5 separate regions of the Homo sapiens genome follow, and all the other regions are linked to region 2. The links are contacts of gene promoters, found by promoter capture Hi-C in blood cells and fetal thymus (Javierre and others, 2016). All regions are on one chromosome and are shown on one strand. Each heading gives the region's core, a stretch centred on a gene start or on the middle of the fragment in contact. The rest is flanking DNA. Distances are from core to core; before and after follow the strand shown.

Evidence for each region. The method cuts DNA at HindIII sites, captures the fragments that hold promoters and counts their contacts. A CHiCAGO score of 5 or more calls a contact.
Region 1: a fragment that was not itself captured here is called in contact with the fragment with the promoter of TCF7L2 in region 2 in 2 of 17 cell types (M1 macrophages and M0 macrophages); the score reaches 7.4 in M1 macrophages.
Region 3: a contact is called between a fragment that was not itself captured here and the fragment with the promoter of TCF7L2 in region 2, in 1 of 17 cell types (M2 macrophages). The highest score is 5.0, in M2 macrophages.
Region 4: a fragment that was not itself captured here is called in contact with the fragment with the promoter of TCF7L2 in region 2 in 1 of 17 cell types (M1 macrophages); the score reaches 6.5 in M1 macrophages.
Region 5: a contact is called between a fragment that was not itself captured here and the fragment with the promoter of TCF7L2 in region 2, in 2 of 17 cell types (M1 macrophages and M0 macrophages). The highest score is 7.9, in M1 macrophages.

What each region holds. Positions count from the first base shown.
Region 1 is chr10:113,498,472-113,502,907 of GRCh38, reverse strand. No RefSeq gene overlaps it. Among named protein-coding and RNA genes, the nearest start is that of HABP2, 52 kb to the left of the region's middle. The HindIII fragment of the contact is 1,658 bases long and covers 1,990-3,647 here.
Region 2 is chr10:112,947,564-112,951,885 of GRCh38, reverse strand. It overlaps TCF7L2 (transcription factor 7 like 2), which reads right to left and starts at 1,639. Exons shown (of 15, transcript NM_001367943.1): 1 at 941-1,639; 2 at 613-679; 3 at 279-403. The coding sequence starts at 1,129. It overlaps LOC124902502 (a long non-coding RNA gene), which reads left to right. Exons shown (of 2, transcript XR_007062291.1): 1 at 1-108; 2 at 879-1,257. The HindIII fragment of the contact is 8,187 bases long and covers 1-4,322 here.
Region 3 is chr10:113,535,159-113,539,722 of GRCh38, reverse strand. No RefSeq gene overlaps it. Among named protein-coding and RNA genes, the nearest start is that of HABP2, 16 kb to the left of the region's middle. The HindIII fragment of the contact is 7,074 bases long and covers 1-4,564 here.
Region 4 is chr10:113,558,590-113,562,640 of GRCh38, reverse strand. All of the region lies in intron 1 of HABP2 (hyaluronan binding protein 2), which reads right to left. Among named protein-coding and RNA genes, the nearest start is that of HABP2, 7.6 kb to the right of the region's middle. RefSeq lists a silencer at 2,937-3,231 and an enhancer at 3,753-4,051. The HindIII fragment of the contact is 2,934 bases long and covers 203-3,136 here.
Region 5 is chr10:113,518,657-113,522,936 of GRCh38, reverse strand. No RefSeq gene overlaps it. Among named protein-coding and RNA genes, the nearest start is that of HABP2, 32 kb to the left of the region's middle. The HindIII fragment of the contact is 4,935 bases long and covers 1-4,280 here.

The DNA.
Region 1 (4,436 bases), core at 1,569-4,068, 550 kb before region 2:
AGCAGAAGCAGATGAGATTCTGGGGTCTTATTTTAGAAGTGAGCACCACTCTGTGTCTGTGTAAAAGTGCCCAAGAGAATCTTCTAAAATCTGAAAGGAAGTCATGATCCCAATTTATCTTCCAGCAAATCTGTCCCACTCCCTCCCTCCCTTACAGAGTTCCTGCTGCTCGGTGGCAAGGACAACCCAAAGCCTTGTTGTTCGAACAAGATGAGGATTAAATAAGAAAATAGTCACATGATGGAAGCTTTTATTCTGATGAAGCCTTTTTTTCTTTATCCAGGAAAACTTAGATCATTAATTAGAGAGTGTTTGAGTTCACCAAAGTAGTCAATAATTTAGAGACTTGCTTTTGAAATATAGGACAAAAGGCAAGCAAAGCCAATCTATCTCAGTAATGACAGCTGAAAAGTCAAAATGTATCAGTCATTATCTCAATCATCTCCTGCATAATCTATGCTTTACCTTTCTTTGTTTGCCTTGTACCTTCCAGTTACTCCAGTTAGTCTTAGGTAATGCCTTTTTCTTTATCTAACATTGGTAACTGTATCAAAAGTGCATTTGACAGAGATACCTTTGGTACCTGTCCCTTTCAAGGCTAGTCACTTGGAAGAAAAGGGTGGAGAGATGTATAGTGAAATCTTGGACAGTCTTGACCACTAGAAAGCTCTTAATGAGTGCATTAGTCAGCTATTACTGCAACAATGCTGAGTAACAAACAATACAAAATCTCAACAACAAATGTGCTTTTTTCACTCATGGTTTTGTGGGTTGGCTGGGGCAGTTCTGCTTCAAGCTGTGCACTAGATTCAGGTCTCCTCTTTGGGGCTTTCATTCTTGATTTGATGGCTCTTCAGGCTCTTCTCATGTTGGGTGTTAGAACCTCAAGAAGGGAAGGTAGAAAAAAAAATTGCTTCTTCTGAAGGCCTAGGGTCAGAGCTGGCACACTGTCACTTCTGTCCCTATTATATGGCCAAAGCAAGTCCCACAGCCAAGTATAACATCAATGGTATGGGAACTCATAGTGAACAATGAAAGAGCAGGAGGAGAGAAAGTATTGTGAGTAACACAATCTATCCCAGTGAGCCTGAGTTGGAAGCCCAGAGTGTGGCTGGGGGGTACTGCTACTATTCACTGCAAAGGGGAAGACAGGAACTGAGGCTGCCTATTTTAGTCTATTTCTGTTGAACAACATAACAATATCCCTTTTCCTTCTCTGACAACTTAGACTAGTAGAATCTAGTGAAATGATCGATATTCTGGCAAAAAGTCTGGATACCACTTTCTGCTAAAATAGATCAAAAGTGAGAAGGACCCACACAAGGCAACTTTGAAGGTTCTACTCAGCCAGCTGCTAGAGGGCAAGGTCTCTGTCATCCACATCTACTTTTAGTTTATAATCACATCCTTTCAGTACGATACGTGGGCCATATTCGTGTTTCAGTTATAGCAAAGAAAGGGCTGGTCCCCTTAAATATCCCCCAAGAGCACATGTCTTCAGAAGCTGCCTTAGAATGTGGTCTGAGAAGAGTTCCAGCTAAACTGGTATGTGTGGGGATTTTTGTTCAAATTCAGTTAAATAAACTTTTTTTTTTTTTTTGAGACAGAGTTTCACTCTTGTTGCCCAGGCAGGAGTGCAATGGAGCGGTCTTGGCTCACTGCAACCTCCGCCTCATGGGTTCAAGCAATTCTGCCTCAACCTTCCGAGTACCTGGGATTATAAGTGCCTGCCACCACGCCTGGCTAATTTTTGTATTTTTTAGTAGAGATGGGGTTTCACCATGTCGGCCAGGCTGGTCATGAACTCCTGACCTCAGGTGATCTGCCTGCCTCAGCCTCCCAAAGTGCTGGGATTACAGAAGTGAGCCACCACGCCTGGCCCAAACTTTTTTTTTTTTTTTTTTTTTTGACACCAGCTACAGACCAAGCACTGTGCTGAGTTCTGGTACTGTTGCATGAACAAAACAAAGTCTTCTCTCTCATGAAGCTTCATTTAGTGGAGAAGGTAGACAATAAACACATAAACAAGTGAACAGAATGGGAACAGAATGTTTACATAGTGATAAACACTTTGCAGAAAAATCTCTAGGGGGTCGGGAGGAGGGAGTGAGGCCTTGGGGAGAGGAGGCTGTTGCATTTTGTACAGGATGCTCAGGGACAGCTTGACAATGAACATGCCTTTGAGCAGAGACCTGAAGGAAGTGAGTGGGGAGCTATGAAGCTCTCTGGGGGATGAGTGTTCCAGGTAGTGAGAAGAGTAAGTGGGAAGGTCTTGGGGCAGGAGCAAGGCTTGTGTGCAGAACAGCAAGAAGGCCAGTGGCTGGATCAGAGTGAACAGATGGTAGAACCGTAGGAATCAAGGCCAGTGAAGTGGCAGGGTTGGACCAAATGAGGCCTGTGGACAAGTCTAAGAACATTGAACTTGGGCTCCTGGACTCACTGGCTCAGCGATTGAACCAAATGAACTTGTCTGCCACAAAATTGTTTTCTTCCTGGATGTAAAACATCTAGGTGTGCAGAGAGTCTATTGGAGATTAGGCCTGGGGGTGTCCTGGTCCATGTGGCCAGATGCTCCAATGAGCAGCGCGGTACTAAGCTACCACAGCCCTGCCTAATTGGGTCATTCCAAAATCATGAAGAAGCAAGCCAGCTGCTGGAAAGAAATCAATGGAAAGTCCACACAGGTGTGTGGAACACTGGCATCAGCTCTCCTCTGGAAATAGCAAGTCTCAATTCTCCCTTAGCTGTATGGCTTCCTTCTGCTCCCTATGCTCAGAACCCCTCCTTCCAGGAAGTTCCTTCTGGAACTCATGTGGCCTTCGTTGCCTCTCTGTGCACAAGCTCCCTCTTCTGCGTGCTCTCCTACAGTCATCCTGGCCTTGCTGAACACTCGTGGTTGATAAATTCTAGGGGGAAGAGCTACAGGCTAAAGATCAGCCTCACGGTCTGGGGCATAGCTGCTCATGAATCATTCAGAAGGAAGAAAAGCCTTACTAAGGGCCTTTGTATCTGGGCGTAGGTTGGGGCTATTTCTTGGCTTCAATGTACATATTTAGGGTCTAGAAAGAAGGGCTGTATTTGGCTTTCACACTTGAGAATTCCCTTTATTGGGAGTCACTGTGTCATCAGAACATTCTTAGTATCCATCCAGGACGAGATGATGACTGCTCTCAACTGAGTCCACGGCAGTCCACACAGGGTTAATCCAAATTTGCCTCTTCTCTCCTCATCGGTAAAAAGCTGGAAGCATTTCTGTTTCATTTCTCTTTCCTCTGTTTAACCGTTTTCTTAAGTTGCTCATTTTTCAAGAAGTAATTCTTTTGTCCTTTTAGAAAGATTAAGTCGTTTTCGTCTCATTGTATTTACCAAAATCCTTATCACCAAGGGCTTTGTAAGTGAGGCCTGCTATACCTTAGCTTCCAGGTATAATTAGTGCCCATTATAATCATCCAACTGACCAATCATGGGAGGCTCCCAAGAGGACCAGGACTGGGAGAGAGACTATTAACAAAATCATACTTCATAGAGTCTTATCTTGCCAGGGGTAAAAAAAAGCCATCCGTCTGGCATTGCACAATCCAGCACTATACAGGTACTCCAGCCCTCCTTGAGGTGCAACTCTCACCAAAGGGTGCAGCAAACAAGCTTCAAAAGGAAAAAAACCACACACAGGAAATGCCTGCACTGCAACGTTTATGAACATTGCCAAAGAGAAGTTGCCAAGTGCTGTAAGTGGACAAATGCACCTCCCAGAACAGAAAACAGAAAAGGATGGAAAGAGGAAGAAGGACCGGCTCTTTTGCATCTCTTTGCCATTGCAGCTGTGAACAGAGGCGGCTGTTTTTCCCTCTCCTAAAGGTTTTCCTTAAAACTGCCACAAAAAAAGCATTGCCAGCAAGTTAATGAGTCCCATCCCATCCGTTTCTCCTATCCCCTCCCAAAGAGGCATAACAGGCCTGTTTACATAGGTCGGCATCTGAAGGTAATTAAAAATGTAATCCTATATTTGCAGCAGGCTCTCTCTCATCTAGAGCAAATTCCCACCACCCAATAATGCTCCTGCTCTACCTCTGTGGTGCACTTTAAGCTTCTTTTTTTCCCTCCCCTCACTTATGCATTGGGTTTAGATCCTCATGGCAATCTGCCCCAACTGGGTGTGGAGAAAAGAAATCAGTTTCCCCATTGAACAGATGAGGAAACTGAGGTGCAGACAGATTCCATGCCACACCCAAGTTCAACAGCTCTCTTTGTTCCAGTGAAGCCATGTTTTTGTTGTTGTCGTTGTTTTGCTTTGTTTTTTGGTTTCTGTGAAGATTTATTTCTACTGTATCATGAAGATGGTAAGAAATGGTTTATTCCGGTGCATCAATGGCTTTGGTCAACTCAGTTTCCATACGTGCCATCCTAGGTGGCAAAATGTTCAAAAAATAAATTGA
Region 2 (4,322 bases), core at 390-2,889:
AACAAAGCCCTGCTTGGACAGAGAGGTCTCCCCAACATCACGAGGCAGCAAACTGAAAGCAAGAACGTGGCGAAGTGCAAACAAATCCAGTCCACAAAAGGCAGAAAAGTTTGGAGAGTTTCGGGCCTCCTGGGCCACGAGCGGGGGAGGGGAGGGAGGGAGGGGAGGAGGCGGGGAGGGGGAGGCGGGGAGGGGGCAGGGCAGGGGCCGCATGCGGGGCCCGGCGGGCGGCGCGGGCGGGCGGGCAGCGGGCGGGGGCCGGGCGCGGAGGCACTTACGGTTCGGGCGGTGGGCGAGAGCGATCCGTTGGGGAGGTAGGGGCTCGTCAGGTCGGGGATCATGATGAAGGGGTAGCCGGGATACGGTGGCCCCTTAAAGAGCCCTCCATCTTGCCTCTTGGCCGCTAACATGGCGGGGCGGCGAGGGGACAGCGGCGGCCGCGCGGAGCGGGAGAGAGTGAGGAGAAACTTTTTAGAAAGTGCCCCGAGGGGCCGGGCGCCCCGACCGGGCCGGCGCAGGGCCAGGCCGAGCCGGGCGCGGGGCCGGGGCGCGCGGGGCGGCCGGCCCGGGGGGCGGCTCCGGGCGGCTGCGGGGCGCGCGGGGCGTACTCACCTTCTTCCAAACTTTCCCGGGATTTGTCTCGGAAACTTTCGGAGCGAGGCGGAGGCCGTCTTTCCGCCTTCCCAGAGGGGTGGAGGTGGGGAGGGCGAGGGGCAAACGCCACGCAGAAGGGGGAGAAGGGGGAGAAAAAGAATCGGCGAGGTCGAGGGGGGGGTAGAAAAAAACAGGGTTACAAGTTTTTGCAATGGTGGCACCGTACGCACACGCCGCCCGCCGGGCCCCGCCGCCGCCCCCAGCCCCGATTTCTCCCCTTTCAGCAACATTTGCCAAGCCCAGGAAACAGATAAAAAACCCCACCAGCCCGAGGGGCTTTTCCTACCTCGGAATCGGAGGAGCTGTTTTGATTCGTTTCTGATTCATTGACTAGAGACGATTTGACATCAGCTAAATCCCTCTCTGCCGAGGAGTTTTCGGAGCTCTTCTCCTCCTGTTCGCCCTCGTCTTTGAAGGAAATCAGTTCGTCGTTGGCGCCTAGGTCATCCCCTCCACCGCCGTTCAGCTGCGGCATTTTTTTTTCACCCACCAGCAGCAATTTTGGAAGAAAAATGAAGGAGGAAGAAAAGCCAAAAAAAATCACCCCCAAAAAGTTTTGCCCCCCCAAAAAATATTGCAAGAAAAAGACGAGTCCAAGGTGAACTTTTTTCTGCTTGGGGGTCTTTTTCTCCTGGGGAGGGGAAAAGAGGGAGGAGGGGAGGGGAAGGGGGGGGAGATCTTCTGCACGCGTGAGTTTGGGTTTCTTTTTTCTCTCGTTCCCAAGGATCCGATCAATGTGCAAAAAAATAATAAATAAAAAAGGGGGGTAAAAAAAAAAAAAACACCAACAACAACAAGAAGTCAGATATAAAGAGCAAAGGGGGGGGGAAGCCGAAGATACAGGAGGTGCTCGTGCCGCTCGGATTTGAGTGAGTTGAAGTTAGACTGAGAGCTTTTCAGTTCAAAGGCGGCGCTGATTGACAGATAGAAAAAGGGGGATCGAAATCCGGAGGAACGGAGTAGTCTGGGAGCGGAGATTATTGACAGGGCGAGAGGAACACACTGCCTTAATGAGATGCCGGAGGGCGGGGCCGGCCCAGTGACGTGTGCATAAATAAACAGCCGGGGTGGGCGGGGCGGGGGCGGCTAACAATGATCCTTTCGGGCGCCGGGAGAGGGAGGAGGGAAAGAAGGAGGAAGAGAGGGGCGGGGAAGCCGGGGGGAGACGGAGGGAGGAGTGTGCAGGGGGAGCGGCCTGCGCGGAGTGTGTGCGAGCCCGGGATTCTGGGCGAGGGTGCAGGGACTTGCTCCGGGAGGGGGCGGTTTCAGAAAGACAATGCGGGGTGGGAGAGGAGGAGAAGGGGGTGGCGACCAAGTCAGGAATCCGAGCCGAGGAAGGCGGAAGGAAAGCCCACTTGGGGGGCGGGGATGGGGAGAGGCCCAAAACAGTGCACTTTAGAAATATTAGAAATAAGTCTTAAGGGAGGGGGAAAAGGAAGGGTAGTATTTGAGAAAGTGGTGGCTGGGGGAGGGGGTGGGGGGGTGCTTGGTGGTTAATTCAGCAGTGAAATCAGCCACCCTTAGACGGGATGCGACAAAAGTGGTCAAAAGGAAAGATCAACCCTCCACTTTCAGAGAGCTTGGGGAAGTGAAGGGGCTGGTCAAAGTTCCTGGTCATCTACAATGAAAGAAACTATTAACCCATGAGGCCTCCCTCCTCCCTTTTTTGTTTATTAGTAGTGAATCATTTCATGAAATGTTAAGTCCCACTAGGATGGATATGCCAAAACGACTTTTTATGCAAAAAACAAATGCTAAATGTCAGAAACATTAAAAGTATCCTTAAGGAAAAATATATGATTCTTTTAAATGTAGAGTGGTGTTTTGCTTTTTTTTTTTTTTTTTTAACTGACGTTGGAGGTAGTAGGAAATGAGCTAGAGTCAAAGTCCTTTTTGACTTAGGAGGTGAAAAGTTTGGGCGTTAACACCGTCAGGGAAAATAAAACTGAAAGTTCACCAACCCCTGGGATCAGTTGGGCTACAGTGTTTCTCGAAGGGGGTCTGAAATGAAATCCCCGAAAGACTGACCAAAATAATCAAGATGTAGGTGGCTCTGGCAGGAAATTGCTAACCAAACCGATGCTAGAAGACCTTCGGGAGAAGATGGGAAACCTGGGGCTTGAGGCAGGTATTTGTTGACTTTTAGGTATTAGAGGAGGAGCAGACTGATTTGCTACAAAATGGGGAATGGAATTATGTTAAAGAGGAAAGACCCAGCTCCCAAAACACAATGTTCCTGGGTGATAGAGCAAGAAAATTCATTTTTGCAAATACCCAGTAAGAAGTAGACTGGACACTACAACATGAAAAAGAGAAAAAAGAAAAAAATAAATCAGTAGGATTTAGCAAATTGCCTCTTAGGAGTAGTATTAGTCTAGAGTCCAGGATGTACTGTTGTCCCACCCTTCCCTGAAAAAGCTCACCTGCACTTCAGCTGGCCCATCAGCACCGAGGTTTCCAAAAGAAAGCAAATTTGCCATGTAATATTTAGAGAGTTTGGGGTTTCAGCAAAACTGTTTTATAGGCTAAAGTCTCAGAAAGACTACTAAAAATAATGATACCGAGATTGACAAGGCCAACGAATTCCCCTGCACTGGAAAAAAATCACAACCACATTTGCACACTAAAGAATAAGATGCAGGCAAAATAAAAATGGGTTGGGGGGGAGGCAGAGGAGAATCACTGTAACTCCCAACTTTGATATTAATCAGAATATCAGAAGTAGAGTGAGAAGGAGCCTGAAAAGAAGTAAAACAAATGTGTACATTTAATCAGACAGGATTGCATAGGATACAAAGCACAGGGCTAATTAGTCTCAGCAGGTAGGACTAACCTTCAGACTTCATAAATAAATAAGGCAGGTGCAGTGTCTAAGAGGGAGAGTGGAGACAGAAAGGGGATTATTTCAAGACACCAAGTGAAAACATGAAGAATGAAATGCTTCACTGTTAAATCCATGTACAAATGGACTTAACAGTTTCCTTTTTTAGGTCTTTTACTTGGTTGCCTTTAGATTTACACATTTAGCGAAATGACCATAGCTTTATACACTTGCTAATTGTCACCTGTATACTTGATGTGCCTAAGTCTGTCTATATGCAGCGTAGACTTTACTAAGGCTCATTTTAGGGACTTAGTTACTTAAACTGGAACACATTTATAGGAACTCAATTTTATGGCAATTTCTTTGTCCTGTGTGGTAGTTTTTTGTTTTTTATTTTTTTAATCAAACCCTGGTCTGAATTAAGTTGGATAATGAGGTCTTCTATGTTCTTTATAGTACTACCTGTATAATAAAATCTCAGGAATATACTGAATTGAAATTTTAAAGAATGTACTTACTGATTTTACTATACTGGCCTGCATTTTTATCATATGTAAATACTAAGGGCTTTGTTCCCATGATTAGTAACTTTATCCATTTTGGCATATCCTTATTTTTCTCATTCAAAGGGAACTCTTTTGAATCTCTCCTTCCTTAAATCTCTGATTTAATTAAGCAATTAAAAAGTTATTCTGTGATAGTGCATGTCCCACATTTAATTTCGTTGCCTGGTGCTGTACAAAGGCTTGAGTAGACCAGCAAGATCTCAGAGGGGCCAGATCCCTGATGCTCTGCAAGTCCCTCAGGTGATGCCTGAATTGAGGAGCGGGGGGGAATGGCAGAA
Region 3 (4,564 bases), core at 1,578-4,077, 590 kb before region 2:
GCCAACAGCCAGCAAGAAAATAGGGATCAGAGACACAGCCCTGCTGACACGTGTGTCTGACTTACAGAACTATAAAAGAACAAATATGTGTTGCTTAAGCCACTAAGTATGATCATTTGTTATGGTAGAAATAAAGAACAACTAATAGGCTAAAATTAGTTGCTAAAGGAGAAATAGGGAAAACAGGCAAGGGTAACAACATGAGCAAAGGCTTGGAGGTAGGAGGGAAGTGCATGTTTAAAGAATGGAGAGGAAACTCCTCCTCCACACGGAGGTCTCATGAGGAAGCAGAGTGGGAGGGAACTTGGGGAGGGCAGGTCTGGGGCTCTGTGTGGTGCCAGGGGAGCTGGTGGCAAGTGGCAAGGACAGAAACAAGACAGTAGGTGAATGAGACTGGGACCCGCAAATGCAGATGCCTACAGGGCAGGTCATCTGAAATGAGTAGAACGAGGGAGGCAGAGGAACACAGCCTGAGAACTGGGACAAATGACAATTAACTGGAAGGTTGGGGGATCACTAGGGAGTGGTGGAGACTACAGCTAGCTGGGGATCTCAGGCCTGAGGTAAGGAGGCAGTCCCATCCAGTGTCAGCATCTTTGCCCTGCAGGAATGTGAGCCTCATGTGGCCAGACAGCTCATTTTTCTTTCTTTCTCTCTTTTTCTCTTCCTTCTTTCCTTTCTCTCTTTCTTTTCTTTCTTTCTTTCTATCTTTCTTTCTTTCCTTGTTTCTTTCTCTTTCTTTCTTTCTTTCTTTCTTTCTTTCTTTCTTTTCTTTCCTTCTTTCTTTCTTTCTCTTTCCTTCCTTCTTTCTCTCTTTTCTTTTCTTTTCTTTTCTTTTCTGGCAGAGCCTCACACTGTTGCCCAGGCTGGAGTGTGATGGTGTGATCTTGGCTCACCTCAACCTCTGCTTCCTGGGTTGAAGCAATTCTCTTGCCTCAGCCTTCTTGAGTAGCTGGGATTACAGGCACCTGCCACCATGCCGAGCTAATTTTTTGTATTTTTAGTAGAGATGGGGTTTCACTATGTTGGCCAGGCTGGTCTCAAACTCCTGACCTCAGGTGATCCACCCGCCTTGGCCTCCCAAAGTGCTGGGATTACAGGCATGAGCCACCGTGCCCGGCCTGACAATTCACTTTTCAAAAGAAGCCAGAAATTCAAAATGCTCCTGATACCCAAAAGTTGATAACAATTCATTGATGTTTAACCTGTGTGGGGCAACATGGTGTCTGTCACCTGAAGCACATCTGCAGGCCAGCTTCTGACCTGTGTTTTCTGCTCCCAGCTTTCTCTCTTCCTGGTTTCTGGATTCCAGGCTGATTCTCCCTTTGGACTGGGTAAGCCCCCAGGGTGATTACACAATTCAGGAGTGGGAGGCTTGAGGGGTGCAGAGTCTGGACTTCCCACTAGCAAGGGCCCCAGTGATTCATTATTAAAATAAGAGATGAGATCATCCTTCCTCTTCCCAACCCCTCTCCCCAAGCATCCCCCAAAGAAAAGGAAAAGAAAAAAGAAAAACGCTTTCTGGCATGCTTGCTCTTAACTTTTGGGGCCAAATGGTGACAGTCAGGGGTGCAGGTGCCAGGTAAGGATGACTGGGCTGCCATTCTCAAAACATGCTTAAGGCTTGCATGGCCTCGGATAAAGCAGTCCCTCTGACCCTTAGTTTCCTTACCATATAGGGTTTTGGTGAGCATCACATGGGGTAGACCATGCAATATGCTTTGCTGTTGTTTCTTGATGTGTTGTATTTATGAACATGCAACCTAGACTGCATGCCCCCAAAGTGAAGCATGCATATGCATGCATTACTTATTAAAAGTAATGCAAAAACCGCAATTACTTTTGCACCGTCCTAATAAATACCTGCCGACTTCCCCTTAGACCCTGGACTTTGGTGCTGAGGAAAAACAGGCCTGGGTGGGGGCTTGCTGCCTGGGTTGAGGGAGGGCAGGGACAGGACAGGCAGCCACAGTCCTCCCTCCTGGCCCTGCCCAGACTTACCTGGAGCCTTTGGGAGGGGTGACAGAAAGGGAGGGCAACAGTTTGGATTTCTTGTCGGCAACTAATTTATGCTGCATTTTAATCTGAACTGAATTAAATATTCTTCTTCCCCAAAGCTATCATCTATCCAACTCTCTACCAACTCTCTATCTATTGTAATTAATTCTTTTTACCTTTTGCTTTTGGGATTTTTTTTTTTTTTTGAGACGGAGTCTCACTCTGCTGCCCAGGCTGGAGTGCAATGGGGCAATCTCAGCTCTCTGCAACCTCTGCCTCCTGTGTTAAAGTGATTCTCCTGCATCAGCCTCCCAAGTAGCTGGGTGCTCACCACCACGCCCAGCTAATTCTTGTCATTTTAGTAGAGGCGGAGTTTCACCTTATTAGCCAGGCTGGTCTTGAACTCCTGACCTCAAGTGATCTGCCCACCTCAGCCTCCCAAAGTACTGGGATTATCGGTGTGAGCCACCACTCCTGGCCTTCTTTTTACCTTTTCTATGTTACTAGGCTGAGTGTCGCTGGGGAAGCAAGTCTAAGTGCTAAAGCCTATATATAAGAAAAATTCAAGTGGGAGCAGCTACCCTGGGGTATTTGTCTCAGAGTTTGCCCTCCTGAAGGAGCAGATCTGAGTTACTGAGAGTATAGTCACCTTCAGCCACTTCACAATGTGGCAACACCACAGTGTCATTTTTCTTTTTCAACTTTTATTTTAGATTCGGGTGTACATGTGCAGGTTTGTTACACGGGTATATTGTGTGATGCTGAGATTTGGGGTACAAATGATCCCGTCACCCAGGTACCAAGCATAGTACCCAACATGCAACCTAGACTGCATCCCCCCATTTTCAACCCTTGCTCCTCTCATTCCCTCCCACTTCTAGCAGTTCCCAGTGTCTATTGATCCTGTCTTTATGTCCATGAGTACCCATTGTTTAACTCTGAGACTGCAGTTTGACCAAAAGTCTCACTTGAGCTAACTTTCAGGGCCAAATGGGGTCAGTCAGGAGCGCAGGTGCTGGGTAAAACTGGCTGGACTGCCACTCTGGAAACGGGCTTAAAGGCTCATGTGGCCCCTGATAAAGGATAAAGCAGTCGCTCTGAGCCTTAGTTTCCCTACTTTACAGGGTTTTGGTGAAGATCATATAGGGTAGACCCCCCTCCCCCTCCCTTTTTTTTTGAGACAGAGTCTCGCTCTGTTGCCCAGGCTGGAGTGCAGTGGCATGATCTGTGCTCACTGCAAACTCCGCCTCCTGGGCTCAAGTAATTCTCCTGCCTCAGCCTCTCGAGTAGCTGGGTTTATAGGTGTGCACCACGATGCCTGGCTAATTTTTGTACTTTTAGAAGAGACAGGGTTTCACTGTGTTGGCCAGGCTGGTTTTGAACTCCTGACCCCAAATGATCCACCTGCCTCAGCTTCCCAAAGTGCTGGGATTACAGGTGTGAGCCACCATGCCTGGCCTTGATGTGTTATATCTATGAACGTGCAACCTAGACTGCATCCCCACAAAGTGAAACATGCACACTGTTACAGCAAACTAAATATGGCTTGAGAAGGACTCCGTACTTCTATATTTGAGTCCTTGCGGATGAACTGTAACCTAGTTTAATAGTCAGACAAAATTGAAAACCTAACTTAATCATATGCACCCCTAGCAATAGCTGAGTGTTGGCCAATCCCAACAGCCATACTTCAACCACTCATAGACTGCTGAGTGTTCAAACTGCGTTCAAATAAGGCAAACGCTGAGCTGTAACCAATCTTGCTATTTTGTAGCTCACTTCTGATTCCTGTATGTCACTTTACCTTTTTTGTCTATAAATTTATTCTGACTATGAGCCACCCCCGGAGCTTCTGTGAATCTGTGATTCTGGGGTCTGCCGATTCGCGATTCATTCATTGTTCAATTAAACTCCTTTAAATTTAATTCGGCTGAGGTTTATCTTTTATCAACATGCACGCACACTGTATGTGACGTCTGCTTGTTCCTGGATCCACTCCCCATTCCTGCCTGTTCCTCTGCTGCCTTACTTTGCACTGGAAGGAGCTATTAGGTTGGTGCAAAAGTAATTGTGGTTTTTGTCATTGAAAGTAATGGCAAAAGATTAGACTCTATACTCAAAGGAATATAAATCATTCTACTATAAAGACACATGCACATGTATGTTTATTGGAGCACTGTTTACAATAGCAAAGACTTGGAACCAACCCAAATGCCCATCAATGATAGACTGGATAAAGAAAATGTGGCACATATACACCATGGAATACTATGCAGCCATAAAAAAGAATGAGTTCAGATTCTTTGCAGGACATGGATGAAGCTGGAAGCCATCATTCTCAGCAAACTAACACAGGAACAGAAAGCCAAACACCACATATTTTCACTCATAATTGGGAGTTGAACAATAAGAATACATGGACACAGGGAGCGGATCATCACACACCAGGGCCTGTTGGTGAGTGAGGGACAAGGGGAGGGAGAGCATTAGGACAAATACCTAATGCATGTGGGGCTTAAAACCTAGATGACAGGTTGATAGGTGCAGTAAACCACCATGGCACGTG
Region 4 (4,051 bases), core at 420-2,919, 610 kb before region 2:
AAACCCCATCTCTACTAAAAATACAAAAATTAGCCAGGCGTGAGGGCAGGAGCCTGTAGTCCCAGCTACTCGGGTGGCTGAGGCACAAGAATCGCTTGAACCTGAGAAGTGGAGGCTGCAGTGAGCAGAGATCGTGCCACTGCACTCCAGCTTGGGTGAAAGAATGAGACTCTGTCTTAAAAAAAAAAAAAAAAAAAAAGCTTATCCAATCTGGCCTAGGCCTGGCAGGCCACAGAGAGGGCCTACTTGGCCCCAGTGACAGCTGGAGAAAGTACAAAAGTCAGATTGAGCCTTGGCCAGCCTACTGCGGTAAACACATCTTAACAAACATCTTCACTCAGATCAAAAGGCACGTAAGCCACTGCCCACTTCTCCCACCACATCCATTCCTAGTTTCAACAGGGCTAAAATAGCACATGGTCCCAGCTGACCCGTCTTCTCTTAAAGGGTGGACGCTGCTGCTTCTGCACATGGTAAGGTAGCTGCTTTGTAGTATATTTAGCAAGACCATTCTAGATCCAACGACTGTTTATTCTACTCCGCACTTGGGCTTTCTCAATGGATCCCTGGCTCAGGACACTGACTTCAAGGTTAGGAGCAGGCCCTTAGCAATGTTAAACTCCCTAAGCCACCAGAGTCTCAAAGTCTGGTGTCCTCCCAGGTTAAGGTTGGTTAGTGAGGAAGGCAGGGAGAAAAGGATCCCGAGTCTCTGAGTCTTACTGATTTACAGTGTAATCTCCTTGTGGGTGGGGTGCACATACATCAAGTCTATTTTGTCCTATATTTAATCCAGTGATTATTTCAACTAAGATTCTTCCTCTGCCTTCCAGAATTCCAAAACTTCTGGAAGACAAAACAAAAAGCCTAACAGTCTGAGTTGATGTGTTCCAGAAATTCGTTGGTAGAAAATGTTCTCAGAGGGATTAGGAGGCAGTGATGGGGGAGATAGGGCCAGATTTGTCTTTTGGGGACAGAGGCTCAGCTCCGAATGAACTAAGAGCAGAGAAATCTTCTGCTTGCTGGATAAAAGGTTGGGACTCTAATCACACCATCTCTTCTTCCTTGCATGTTCTACCCTATGCCTGGTGGTAGGCCACATGTTGCCAACCACCAGGGAGGTGCGTTACTCCCAAGGGCAGCTGGGGAGGAGAGACCTCTGTACCATGGCCATGGTTGAGGCTGCAACCTCTGGACTGGAAGGTGGACAGGGACAAGTGTGCACAGTTCAGCAGGGCCAGTCCCCTTGCTGGGCAAAGAGCTCAAGGCCAGAGCGAGTAGTGGAGGTGGCAGAGGGCAGTGGCTGCCAGTGCCCAGGCCAAATCCTCCCTCATGTTGTTCTTCTCTGGCTCCTGCTACAAAGATAAGCGATGTCATTTCAGCCTGAGTTGAAATCATCACTGGATTAAAGATAGGACAAAATAGACTAGACGTATACACTCCCCACCCCCAAGAAGATTACACTGTAAATCAGTAGGATTCAGAGACACGGGCTCCTTCTCTCTCTGCCCCTCCTTGACTTTCTGTCTAACCAACTTTATCCTAGAAGACACTAAGATGAGCAGTTGTGCCAAGCCACTCAGTCCTTTTATTTGAAAATTGTGGTAACATATACAGAACATCACATTTATCGTTTTGACCATTTGTAAGTGTACCTTTCAGTGATACTAATTACATTCACAATGCTGTGTACCCATCACCACTCTCTAATCCCCAAACTTTTTCGTCATCCCCAGCATGGACTGTACTCGTTGAACAGAAACGCCTCCTTCTTATTCTCCCTCAGCCCTGCTAATCTCTAGCCTACTTTCTGTCTCTGTGCATTTGGCAATTCTAAGTATCTCATGGAAGCGGAATCCTACAATATTTGTCCTTCTGGGACTGCCTTTATTTCACTGTGCATCGTGTTTCCAAGGTCTTCTAGGTAGCATGTATCAAACTTTCCTTCCTTTTTACAGCTAAATAGTATTCCATTGTCTCTATCTAATCACATGTTGTTTATGCATTCATCTCTTGATGGACATGGGTCATTTACACCTTTTGGCTATTGTGAATAATACTGCTATGAACATTGGTGTACAGATTTCTGTTCAAGTCTCTGCTTTCAGTTCTTTCAGATATGTACTTAGATGTGGAATTGCTGGGTCCTAGGGTAGTTCTACGATTAACTTTGTCAGGGACCGCCATACTGTTTTCCACAGTGGCTGCACCATTTTACATACCTACCAGCGAGGCCTGAGGGTTCCAATTACTCCACATTCTCACCCACACTTGTTATTCCCCATTCTCGAAAATGATAGCCATCCTAATAGGTATGAAGTGAGCCATCCTAATAGGTGTGAAGTGGTGCAACTCCATCCCTTCGTAGGCACAGGAATCTTGCCCTTCTGGCTTTTGCACACATTGCTCAATGCCGTCTCAAGACTGGCAGGTTCACTGCAGCTTTGCTTTCACCTGAAGCTCAGGGGAAGGGGGCAAAACTCTCAAGGGAGAATGTGGAAGCCAAAGGTGAAGGTGCTGGCCAGCAGTGCCTGTGGGTGGTTTCCTTCCTGGACACCTGGGTGAAGCTGTTCACCAGACCACAGTGATGAGCCAGGAGCCACTGTAGAGAGGAACTGGCTCAGACCCTTCATCTGCAGAGGAGGAAGATGAGGCCCAGCATGGTGAAGTGGCTTGTGTAAGGACATGGACACATTGGGGCAGGGGAGGGACTCAGGCTCAAGTCTCCTGGCTCTGACGCCGATCACCTATGCCTGGCTCAGAGGGATTCTGTGCAGCTTCCCTGCTCTAAAGCCCAGAGCTGGCCACTCAGACCCTACCCAGCTAAGGGCTGAGCTGCAGCTTCGTGTGACAGTGGCAGGCAGAGATGGGACAGGGGCAATGGGCAGAAAGAGAAGAGTCCCATTTGTTACATCCGGAGAATTTCCATTTTAAAGACATTGGTTCTTAAACCTCAATGTGCATAAGAATTGTCTGGGGAACTTGATAAAAATACAGATCCCTGGGGCCCACCCGCAGAGGTTTGGCGTCCATGGGTCTGAGGTGGGCTGGGAACACAACACACATCTTCCTCCAGTGCCCAGGCGACTCTGCCCTTGGCCACGCTTTGGTTATACCAAGCTCTCTTGGGTGTGAAGCTTCTGGCTGAGGAGACTCAGGGCCTATCTTTGCTCCTGTGCAATTTGTTGAGTCTCTCTGTGCCTCAGTTTCCCCAATTATAAAAGTAAGAATTCCCTTTCCCAATTCCAATGTTTTATTCAAGGAACTTTGGCTGCTCAGGAAGAATATGGCATTTGCAATGATTACTCCGCAGGTGAGACTTGGTGAGAAATATCTGTACAAATGGCTCATCCCAGGGACTTGGTGCAAACAGATGGTGGTGGAGGGGAGCTTTGAAGGTTAGGGAGTGAGGCCATCCAAGACAAGGAGACTGGGTAAAAATTCTGCATATGATAATGCTCTTGGAAGCCCTTTTAAAAGGCAAGCGAAGGCTGGGCACGGTGGCTCACGCCGGTAATCCCAGCACTTTGGGAGGCCAGGGCGGGTGGATCACTTAAGGTCAGGAGTTTGACACCAGCCTGGCCAGGATGGTGAAACCCTGTCTCTGCTAAGAATACAAAAATTAGCTGGGCGTGGTGGCAGTTGCCTGTAATCCCAGCTACTCAGGAGGCTGAGTCAGGAGAATCGCTTTAACCTGGCAGGCAGAGGTTGCATTGAGCCAAGATTGCGCCATTGCACTCCAGCCTGGGCAACAGAGCGAGACTCCGTCTAAGAAAAAAAAAAAATTAAGACAAGCAAGTGGACAAAACCAAAGCACAGCTGAGCGTGGGGCCGCCTCATAAGCACAAGCCCCCATGTTTCCCTTTTTGGTCAGTCAGCCCCAGCAAATAGCCCAGGGCTTCAGGAAGGTAACTCCCCCGCTAGGCATCAGCACCACCTCTGCTGAAGCTGTGCTCACTCCTGCGCTTTCCGTGGCATCAGATGTGAGCCACTGCGGGTATCTGAGTTGATTGAGATGGTGCCTAGCCAGGATGTGAAGTAACAGCATTAGAAT
Region 5 (4,280 bases), core at 1,017-3,516, 570 kb before region 2:
CTGTCTTTAATTTCCTTCCTTTTCCTATCAGATCTCTCACTCATAATTCAACTTCCTTTACTGCCTCCAGCTAAAATGCTCTCCTCCTTCCTCTATACATCTTTAATCTACCCATGTGCCAAGAGCTGGAAAGGTAAATTAGATTGTATGCCATTTTCCCATTCTGCTTAACTGTTATAACTGCCTGGAGCTGTATTATGAGAATAATTCTGAAATTATATTCATGATCTATGTGAAAGAGATCTGTAATCGATTAGTGATGTCTGCCATGCGTAAGGCGGGAAAGAGCGAAGCAAACAGACTCTGGCTAGAGCCAACTGATAGCAGCCTGCCTCCTCCATGCAGCCTGGGACAATGGCAGCCCTATGGATCACCTTGCCCATGACCAATTTATCATATTAATAATAAACACAGGATTGCAATGGGCTCTGAGAAGAAAAATACCTGAGATATCTGCCTTTAAAAAAGCCATGGTGGTGCTGGGCTCGGTGGTTTATGCCTGTAATTCTAGCACTTTGGGAGGCTGAGGCAGGTGGATCGCTTGAGGCCAGGAGTTCAAAACCAGCCTGGTCAACATGGCAAAACCCTGGCTCTACTAAAAATACAAAAATCAGCTGGGCATGATGGCACATGCCTGTAGTCCCAGCTACTTGAGAGGCTGAGACAGGAGAATTGCTTGAACCCAGGAGGTGGAGGCTGTAGTGAGCCGAGATCGCACCACTGCACTCCAGCCTGGGTGACAGAGCAAAACGCTGTCTCAAAACAAAACGAAACAAAACAAAACAAAAAACGAAAAACAAACAAACAAAAAAACAAACCATGTTGAAGAGTCTATTTACCCAGGTTTTTATCACATCTCACCCGGTTCTCTCTCTGCATCAGACAATTAAAAACCTTACTTGTAACAATAATGGCTAGCTTTTATGAGAACTTACTCTGTGCTGGCACCATGCTAAGGCTTGACACATGTCATCTCAGTTAATCATTATAGTTTTGCGAAGGAGGAAGGGGGTACACCTAAAAGGCCATCTTGCAGATGAGGAAACGACATTCAGAGCAACGAAGTGACTCCTTCGAGGTCACCTAGGCAATCAGTGGTGGGGCCAGGATACACATCCAGGGCCATTTGATTCCAAACCTTGGCTACTAGATGAATGGGTATTTTTGTTTATTAGTGTATGGTATTGTTCACTTTTGATGAAGGTGTTAGAAATAGACAGCAAAGTCTCTGAGTGCATAAATTTGTCACACACTTTGTTATATTTTTCCCTTCCACACCCAAGTACCTAACACAGGCCTAAGTCAGAGTTGATGGAGTCTCTAATGCTCTTTTTGCGGCTGCTCAGGCCCTATCAATTGCTGCTTATTATTTATTTTAACATATTTTCAAGGCCCGAGAAGGAGGATCACATTACATACAGTCTATGGGGAACTGGGCTCAAAATGACTCAGGGATCCCAAAAAGATTGTGCTCCAACAGGTAAAAATATCCCCCTGTGGCCTCATTGAAATTGCCAGCTTTTCCAGATGCAGCAGCAACTTTTGGCCACAAGAGGACAGTAAAGACAAGGCTACCAGGACCAAGTCCGACCAGCCTCTCCATCCAGGCTTCACAAGCGAGCAGAGACCTTGGCAGCAATTACTGTTTCTTTTATTATGACCACTGTCATACAATCTTCAGATGAAATGCACTTCAACAGGCTGATGCAAAGATCTAATGACTTCCCTGCAACTTCCAGCATAAACGAAGCTAAAATGGCCATTTATGCATGCATGCATTTGTTCCACCTGCATTTATTGAGCACCTACTGTATTACAAGCACTGTACTATCTAGGGGAGATGATGGGCAAGTACACTGAGAGACCTAGTACAGGTTTCCAAGAGGCATCGGAAGCACCAGAGGAGGCACTGTGCTCTAAGAGAGTCAGGAGGGCATCTCTGAGGAGGTGACATTTGCACAGGGTCTTGGAGAAGGTCTGGGAGCTCACTAAATAGAGATGGCAGGGGCCAGTGCGGGGGCTGGGGCAGGAATCCCAGACAAAGGGAGGAGGGAATGGCAGCCAGAGACATCACTGGAGCGGATATGAATCTTTGTACTGCTTGCTGTGGGCTGGAATTTGAAATTTGATGGCTATTTTTGGAATGAGATTCCTGAAACGCTCCCCTGTCTTCTTCGGTCAGGTTTATAACCATCCATGGGAGTGGAGCTCTAGGCTCTGACTAAAAGGGAGCAATGGGGACCTCCTTTTCTAGAAAGTTCTTGTGATGATAGCCTTCCTGAGCAGATTTGTGGGAGTTTCCAGCCAGACCATTCAGGATCTTCCTCTGGAGCAAGCCCAAAGGGGCCTGTGCAAGGCTGGGTAGGAACATGAGGGGCCCTCCCAGCCCCCTCCTGCACTGGGCTGGAGGCGGGCTGAGGGCCCAGCTCTGTCTTCAGAAAAGCAGCCACAGTCCCCGAGCAGGTGGGTTTCCAGCCCTGCTTTTTCTCCCTGAGCTCTTTTCCCCAAATGGCCCTTTCCCCTTTTCTGCTGCTTAAGCCTTGCCCAGATTCTATGGCAAACAACAGCTATCCTGCCAGTTGACCTGAGTCACTGGGTATAGGAAGGGGCCAGAGCTCACATGGCCATTCAAATCTAGGCTTTGTCTGCATCTTGGCTCTGTGAACTTGGACTTGACATTTAACCTCTCTGGGTCTCTGTTGGCTTGTGGTGAGGTTGACAGAATACAGAGGTAACTGTCTGTATACTTGGGTCCCAAGTGAGGGCCTAAGTTATGGACTCCAACTTGCATGAGTGTCTTGGGGGCACATTAGGTATGTCGGGGCGCTGGGAGCACCTGGGCAAAGGGCTACAACTTAACCTCCCAAGGACCCCATGGGGGAAGTTGAGTGCCCTCCATCCCTCAGTAGGAAATCCCAGTGTGTGAACAACACCTAGACACTATTGGGCAAGGCTGTCACTGCTGTTTCCTCTGGTGCTGCCCCTTAACCCACAAAAGCTGGGAGTTGAGAGGCCTGAAATGAACGAAGGAGGAAGTGCCATGCGGGAGCCGGCCCCTGGGGGCGTTAAAGGTACCCTCACGGCCCCTCTCAGCCACCTCTTCACAGAAGGGACCATTCTCAAAGGGAGCCAGAGCCTGGGCATGCTGGGCCGGTAGAGGGTTTGCCCGGATCGCAGTCAGGGCTGCACCTCCGGCCAGGAGGCTGAGAGGGAGGACATCCACCCAGCAACTGGGGAGCAAAGTGGACAGGGGTGGCCGAGCCCCAGGAGGGGAGAGTGTCAGAGATGTGTGACAACTGAGAGAAGGCCCTGCTGGGTCCATTCATCCTCATCATCTTCTTCATCATCATCATCATCCTCAGGATAAGATATAAGAACAACAATAAAATAGTAACTTCGATTAACAAGCACCTACCATGCCCCGGACATTTTCCACACACAAAATCTTCACAGCAGTACTTCCAGGTAGGTGGCGTCATTGTTCCCATCTTACAGATGAAAACACCGAGGCTCAGAGAGTCTAGGCAACTTGCCAGCTTGCTTTTAGCAGCAAGAATCAGGATTCAAACCCGGACGTACCAAACTTCAATCTTTGGCCTCTTTCCAGTTCCACACTGCCTCCCTGAAAGAATTAGTCACTCTTGATCCAAAAGATTCCCATTATTTTTTTCTTTGATAATGTGGTTACTCTGAGTTAAAGTGACTCTAACTCAGAGGCAGATTCTGAAAACTAACAGATGCTTAAGAGCTAAGCAGTGACAAAAACAGAATCTTGTGTGCAGGAAACAGAGACCAGCCCTGTGCTGCCGGTGTCCCATCACCGCACTTCCCATTCAGTAGCCCAGCAGGCTGGGCCAGATTTGCAAGCCCCCCGTCCCTCCTCATGCTTGCCTGGAGAGTGGACATTCCCTTCCCTGCAAGGATGGGACCTCCAGCTCTAGTCCCACTGAAAGCCAGTGACTGAGAGCCAGATACACCTTGTTTCAAGTCCAAATAGTGGCTGTGTGGCCTTAGGCAGGTTTCCTAACCTCTCCAGGCCTCATATGTAAGATAGGGTATAGCCCGACTTGCAGAAATCTAAGGTGCCACAGGTGATAAAATGCACTATTATTTTAAATACCACTGGAAAAAGTAAAAAAAAAAATGCTGTGAATTAAACTAGGATTTAACGCTGACATGCCACGAATTGTAAGAGACATCCAAATGTTGGTGATATCAAAATATGAAGTGGAGTCTTGTTTTAGAATTGATAACAAAGCATAATGTTCCCCACACTCAGC